2 separate regions of the Homo sapiens genome follow, and region 2 is linked to region 1. The links are contacts of gene promoters, found by promoter capture Hi-C in human tissues and cell types (Jung and others, 2019). All regions are on one chromosome and are shown on one strand. Each heading gives the region's core, a stretch centred on a gene start or on the middle of the fragment in contact. The rest is flanking DNA. Distances are from core to core; before and after follow the strand shown.

Evidence for each region. Contacts are between HindIII fragments. The study calls those that stand out against the background at their distance.
Region 2: a contact is called between a fragment that was not itself captured here and the fragment with the promoter of MLXIPL in region 1, in 1 of the 25 tissues and cell types used here (dorsolateral prefrontal cortex).

The regions. Positions count from the first base shown.
Region 1 is chr7:73,622,968-73,626,698 of GRCh38, reverse strand. It overlaps MLXIPL (MLX interacting protein like), which reads left to right and starts at 2,177. Exons shown (of 17, transcript NM_032951.3): 1 at 2,177-2,499. The coding sequence starts at 2,207. The HindIII fragment of the contact is 21,137 bases long and covers 1-3,731 here.
Region 2 is chr7:73,672,244-73,675,777 of GRCh38, reverse strand. No RefSeq gene overlaps it. Among named protein-coding and RNA genes, the nearest start is that of VPS37D, 6.2 kb to the right of the region's middle. The HindIII fragment of the contact is 1,779 bases long and covers 1,120-2,898 here.

The DNA.
Region 1 (3,731 bases), core at 928-3,427:
CAGAGATGCTTGGGTGTGTTTTTGCTCTCCTGTGCCTCTGAACCCATCTTTGAGGCTGTTAGTTAAACGCTCCAGTGAGGTGTCAGGTGTGAATGCCTCAGTCTGGTTTCTGTCCTCAAGGTGAGAAAAGAGGCTTCAGAAGCAGAAAGGCCATGTACAGTGGCTCACACTTGTAATCCCAAAACTTTGGGAGGCTGAAGCAGATTTCATCTCTACAAAAAAAAAAAAATTAGCCAGGTTTGGTGGCATGAGCCTGTAGTCCCAGCTACTAGGGAGGCTGAGGTGGGAGGATCGCTTTGGCCCAGGAGTTTGAGGCTGCAGTGAGCTATGACCGTGCCTCTGCACTCCAGCCTGGGTGACAGAGCGAGACCCTGTCTCTAAAAATATATAAATAGGCTGGGCACGGTGGCGCATGCCTGGAATCCCAGCACTTTGAGAGGCTGAGGTGGGCAAATCGCTTTAAGGTCAGGAGTTTGAGACCAGCCTGGCCAGCATGGAGAAACCTCGTCTCTACTAAAAATACAAAAATTAGCTGGGCATGGTGGCGGGCACTTGTAATCCCGGCTACTCAGGAGGCTAAGGCAGGAGAATCGCTTGAACCAGGGAGGCAGAGGTTGCAGTGAGCCGAGATCGTGCCATTGCACTCCAGCCTGGGTGACAGAGTGAGCCTCCGTCTCAAAACAATAAATAAATAGAAGTATATAGATAAATAAAAATACAAAGAAGCAGGAACAAAAGCTGGACCTCAGTGTCAGTGAGAGAAGGGGCTCAGAGCTCCTGGGTAGATGCCTGCCTAGGGGATGTCCACCTTCCAGTGAGCCACCCATCCCTACCAGTAACAGTCCCTCGAGGCTCCCCTTGGGCCTCTCTGTGCAGGTGAAGTAATGATCACAATTTTTTTAATATATATTTTTTCTTAAGTATTTTATTTTGTTTTTGAAACAGGATTTCACTGTTGCCCAGGGTGGAGTGCAGTAGGGCGCGATCTCGGCTCACTGCAACCTCCACCTCTTGGGCTCATGTGATTCTTCCACCTCAGCCTCCCGAGTAGCTGGGATTATAAGCCAAGCACGCATCGTCACATCCGGTAATTTTTGTATTTTTAGTAGAGAAGGGGTTTCTCCATGTTAGCCAGGCTGGTTTCGAACTCCTGGCCTCAAGTGACCCACCCACCATGGCCTCCCAAAGTGCTAGGATTGAAGGCGAGAGCCACCGCGCCCGGCCACCGTGTTGGCCACCATGTTAACTAGAGGTGTTAGCAACCTCCTGTGGGCCAGGCCCTTCAGGGGCATTACCTTGGGCTTACCACATCAGGCCCCTGAGAGTTGGGGGCTTCTACCTATGTGGAGGACCCAGAAGAGCTAATATGGGGGGCGGGGGTTGGAGGTGAAGGGCAGGAGTTAGGTGAGGGGAGATGGTGATCTCTGGCCTCACAGGAGGGTGCCCCTGAAAGAACAAACCCCAGGTCCTGAGGCGCTTTCAGGCTCAGGTGTGATAGGGGACCCTTTTGTTGTGGAGACAGGGTCTCACTCTGTCATCCAGGCTGGAGTGCAGTGGCGCGATCTCCGCTCACTGCAGCCTCAACCTCTTGGTCTCAAGCGATTCTCCCACTTCAGCCTTCGGAGTAGCTAGGACTACATGCACACGCCACCATGCCTGGATAATTTTTGTATGTTTGGTAGAGACAGGGTTTTGCCATATTGTCGAACTCCTGGGCTCAAGGAATCCTCCCACCTCAGCCTCCCCAGTAGCTGGTATTACAGGCTTTCTCCACTATGTCCGGCTAATTTTTGCATTTTTTTGGTAGAGATGGGGGTCTTGCCATATTGCTCAGGCTGGTCTCGAACTCCTGACCTCAAGCCATCCTCCCGCCTTGGCCTCCTAAAGTGCTAGGATTACAGGCAAGAGCCCCTGGCGTCCGGCCTGACCTTTCTTAATATCCCTTTGGAGCAAAGTAGGGGCGGCTCTATCAGGACTCCAAGGAAAGACGGGAAGGGAGATGGGGCCAACCCGCCAGAGCTCCAGAGCACCGGGTTCTCACCTGGCGTAAGGATTATGCTAATACAAGCCCCGCCCCGTCCCAGGCCCCGCCCACCCGATCGGCCTATGGTGTGGGGGCGGGGCTATGTTAATGAGGCCCGGCTGGCCAAGAGCTGTTCCCCGCGCTGCGCGGAGCAGGGACCAGGCGGTTGCGGCGGCGACAGCCATGGCCGGCGCGCTGGCAGGTCTGGCCGCGGGCTTGCAGGTCCCGCGGGTCGCGCCCAGCCCAGACTCGGACTCGGACACAGACTCGGAGGACCCGAGTCTCCGGCGCAGCGCGGGCGGCTTGCTCCGCTCGCAGGTCATCCACAGCGGTCACTTCATGGTGTCGTCGCCGCACAGCGACTCGCTGCCCCGGCGGCGCGACCAGGAGGGGTCCGTGGGGCCCTCCGACTTCGGGCCGCGCAGTATCGACCCCACACTCACACGCCTCTTCGAGTGCTTGAGCCTGGCCTACAGGTGAGGGCGGTTCCGGGCCCTGACGGCCTTGGCTTCCAGGTGGGGATGGGGGGGGGGTCCGGGGCAGGACTGCGCGCTGGGGCCCTCAACACCCCACCCGAGCCCGGTCCTGCGGCTCCCGGAGGCTCCGATCACGCCCTGGACACCCCCTTTCTCCCAGCCCCGAGGTCCTCCTACAGCGGCCCAGCCCGCTGGCCCCTGACGGACCCACGCATTTCTGATTCCCATTCCTCCCCCATTCCCTCTTCCCCGAAGCGCAGACCGCCTGCGCCCCACCTCTACCTGGACCTCTGGTCCCCTCTCTCTGGTCCCAGCCCCTCCGTCCCTACAAAAATGCCAGGCGCCCCTGGTCCCTAGGCCACCCGCGCCCATCCCCACTCTCCACTCTGGAGCCACTCCACCCGACCCCCTGCAGGCCTCGGCCTTCTCCCCAGCAGCCCCGGCCCAAGCCCGCCCTATTCCTGGACCCTGAGATACTCCCAGCGCCCCTGATTGTCCCAGTTCATAACCAAAGTGGACTGGAACTGGCCCACTCTCACGTCCACCTCCCCGCAATTGCTGAGACACCTCTTCTTGATCTGCTACATTAAGGGTGGCGGGAGGAGGATGTCCCAGAAATGTCCAAGAGGCGCAGCTCGCAGAGGTTACGCCGGTGCCCGGGAGGCCTGGGTTCGCCTACCCACGTCGCCACACTAGGCTGAGCGCCCGTCGCTGCCTGGGACCCCCGCTTAGTGCCACCGAGAGCGCACAGGCCGCGCCCCGCTGCCGCTCCACGCCCCGCGTCCCAGAGGAGGGCGCGAACCCGAGGCCTGGCCCAGTGCCCTGGAGCAAAGTTCCCCGGAGTTGAGGGGCCAGTATAAATTATCAACCGAAAACCCGTAGGGGAGAAAGGGGGATCGGCCGGCCTTGATCTTTTCTCTGTGCAAATATTCCTCTTCCTCCGCGGCGCCTCCTCCCCTTCTGAGAACCGCTGGCTACAGATCGGCACCTGCCGCCCTGCGGGGGAGCAGGAGCTGGGGTGGGGACTGTGAGGGGAGTGTTGCCTGCCCCCAACCGCAGCCGCCCAGCTGCGACCCCATTGGCTGGAGGCGGAGTAACCTTGGCCCACAAGCTCTGGCCCCTGGCCCAGGTCATGTTGCAACCCGATCGGCCAGGGCGTCGGACCCGTGTGGAAAGTTCAAATTCCCGTCCCTTCTCCCTCCCTCCCCAAATGTCACGCGACTGCCTGGGAC
Region 2 (3,534 bases), core at 760-3,259, 49 kb before region 1:
AGGAGAATTTCTTCCTGGAAAGGGACTACTTTGCACCTCTGTGTCACCTTCCTGGCCCCTGTAGGCATTTGAGGTTGCAAATTCTTATATTGTATGTTGCTGCAAGAGCCTGCACTTTATGCAGGGAGGTTGAGTGAAATCTTATTTTCATTGTGGGACAAGGGGAATCTCTCCAGAGGTCTACAGCAATGATAAGCTTAGACACAACCAGAGGCCCTTTGGTACAGTAACACCAGTTCCTTCACTCAGTCTTTTGTGTATAATCCCCGTATACACTGGGATAAACCTGCAGCAAGTCCAACTGGGTCTCTTAGAAACCATTCGATTCTCCAGCCTTGGAGGTTAGGGGCAAGTTCTTAGCCATGGCTTTGCAGGGACTACACGATTCAGTGGTGAAGGTTTGAGCCCACACTGGTTGGAGCCTGCTTAGCTCAGTGAGCCTTGATTGGTTAGGAAAAAGAAAAAGCAATTTAATGTTACTATGTTTCATATTTGGAAACCAAGATGGGGAAGGTTAGAAAAATGCAGAAGCTAGTGATTCACAAACAAGGAGGTGTACATAATAGACTTTCTTGAGGAACAGGGAGCTCTGTTTTTATTAAAAGGGGTGGGAGTTTTATTTGGAGACTTCTTTGGTTTTGTTTTGTAAAAGCAAAATGGTATCTAATAGGTAGGACCTTTTTCATGAGCCCCCTGATGCAGACCCTCAAGTTTGTTTTCTCTCACAGATCACAGCCAGGAACATTCCTGGGGCCCCCTGAATCTAGAAGCAGCAAGTTCAAGAAGGTTTTAGGCAAAAGGAAGGGCCCAGAGTGCTGCACCTTCCAGAACATTCCAGAACCTTCCTGAACATTCCATGTACCTTCAAGCAAAAGGGGTTAATGATTTTTCAAACCATCCAACTGTAAGCCTTTCCATGGCCCACCCAGAACTGGGCCCACTCCACTCTGGTGGTGTCCATCCTCACCTGCCTCCGATCATTTTCAGGCTGGAGCTGAACACAGAGGGGTCTCACTCCCTGCCCCTCTAAAGAAGAATCAGCTCTGTGCAAGACAAGGTGTGTGGGAGGCCTTCTGAAGGACCCCATCTGGTTCCCATGGTAACACTTCTTCCTAGTCCCTCTCTTGTCCATGTCTCAACTTTCTCTGCTTCTTACCTACCCTGAGGAGGGGAGGCTCAACCTGGTAGCTGCTGCCTTCTAAAGGCTGCTCCCCAATTCATGATAGTGGAGAAAGGTCCAGACCTGCCCAACCTTTGCCCCTTTTTACCTTTTGGTTGCAAACTCTACACCATGTCAATCATGAAGGAGAGCCAAAAAAAAAAAAAAAAAAGTGGGGACCGGGCACTGTGGCTTACACCTGTGATCCCAGCACTTTGGGAGGCTGAGGCGGGCGGATCACGAGGTCAGGAGATGGAGACCATCCTGGCTAACATGGTGAAACCCCGTCTCTACTAAAAATACAAAAATAATTATAATTAGCCAGGCATGGTGGCAGGCGCCTGTAGTCCCAGCTACTCAGGAGGCTGAGGCAGGAGAATGGCATGGACCCAGGAGGTGGAGCCTGCAGTGAGCCGAGATCACGCCACTGCACTCCAGCCTGGGCGACACAGCGAGACTCCGTCTCAAAAAAAAAAAAAAAAAAAAAAAAGCCAGGTGCGGTGGCTCACGCCTGTAATCCCAGCACTTTGGGAGGCCAAGGCGGGCAGATCACCTGAGGTCAGGAGTTTGAGACCAGCCTGACCAACATGGAGAAACCCCGTCTCTACTAAAAATACAAAATTAGCCGGGCTTGGTGACACATGCCTGTAATACCAGCTACTCGGGAGTGTGAGGCAGGAGAATGGCTTAAACGTGGGAGGCAGAGGTTCCAGTGAGCCGAGATCGCTCCATTGCACTCCAGCCTGGGTGAGAAAAGCGAAACTCCATCTCAAAAAAAAACAAAAAGCAAAAAAAAACAAAAAACAGCAGGGAACCATGCATTTTCAGAAAAATGGGACAAAGGTACTTTTTCGTGGGAATGGACTGCTTTGCACCCTGGAAGCTTGGACCAGGAATGGGAAGCCAGGGCAGGAGGGGCCCATCCTGCCCCAGACTGTGCTGAGAAGGAGAGCATGGGGGAGAGGTCTTCCAAGGCTGCTCAGTCTTTGGTCATATCAGCAGGAACTCAGCGGTTCTGGTGTCCCTTGGCCTCCAGCAGCTGAAGTGCCAGCAGTGAAGAGAGTAGAACCAAGACCAAGGTGGGATGGAGGTTCTAAAGTGGGCACTCTCAGTGCTTAAACTGTGCCTGTACTAGGGGGACACTCTGACTGTCTAGGCCTGAGGCTCTAAAGCTCCCACAGCCCAATCCCTCTAGCTACAGCCGACATCTCTAAAAAGCCCATCAAGCAGTTGCTGCCCCCACATCGTCAGGGATGGGGACCATCCACCTCACAGAACACCCCTAACTTTTTTTTTGGGTGGGGGGACGGAGTTTCACTTTTGTCGCCCAGGCTGGAGTGCAGTGGCGTGATCTTGGCCCACTGCAACCTCTGCCTCCCGGGTTCAAGCAATTCTCCTGCCTCAGCCTCCTGAGTAGCTGGGATTACAAGTCCCTACCACCATGCGTGGCTAATTTTTGTATTTTTAGTAGAGATGAGTTTTCGCCATGTTGGCCAGGCTGGTCTTGAACTGCTGACCTCAGGTGATCCACCCACCTTGGCCTCCCAAAGTGCTGGGATTACAGGCATGAGCCACCGCTCCTGGCCTCATCCCTAATTTAAGAGCCTCAAACGGAGCCAAAATCCGGCCCCTTACGGTTTCCACCAATTGGTCTTAGCTTTGACCTGTGGTTCCCACCCACTGGTCTTGGCTTTAACCTCTGGTTCTAGGTGACCCAACCCTTTAGAGATTCAAAGGCTGAACATCACACACAAACACATTTGAAACAGATCCCTCAACTGTTCCTCACTGACTGTTCTTTCTCATCCTTGTTTCTCCAAAGGTGCCATTTGGGGCGGGTGGGGGGAGGGGACCCTCTTCCAGTAAAAAACTTAAGTGAAAAGCAAAGCTACCCCAACACCTTCCTCTTTCCAGATAGTTATGTCCTTATTAACATGGACCAACACCATATTAGCTTTGTAGGCTTCCACAACACTGTGACTGTCCCCTTTTGTTTGCAAGAACTTCCACGCCTCCCTGCCAAACTGCATCTCATTGGACTTGACCTAAGCTGACCCAGGGTATATCCCACCTCCTTGTTCCACAATCATCAGCCAAACTGGCACCTAGCATTCCCCCTGGCTGAGGACAGATGCCATCAGTCCTGCAAAATGCCCTCCATCACTCCGTGGGGACCGTCATTTGGCAGGCCAGAGAAGACCAGGTACCATCCCGATTGGGCTTATGGGCAACCCAGGAAAAGATGCGTACAGGTGAGGCAATTGGAGAACCAAGATGGAGCAGTGAGCGCTTCTGACTGGAAATGCCGGGAAGTTAAGATTTAGGAAAGGCTCTCAACGGGTTGGTAATCAGAGAAGGCTTCATGGAAGAGGCAG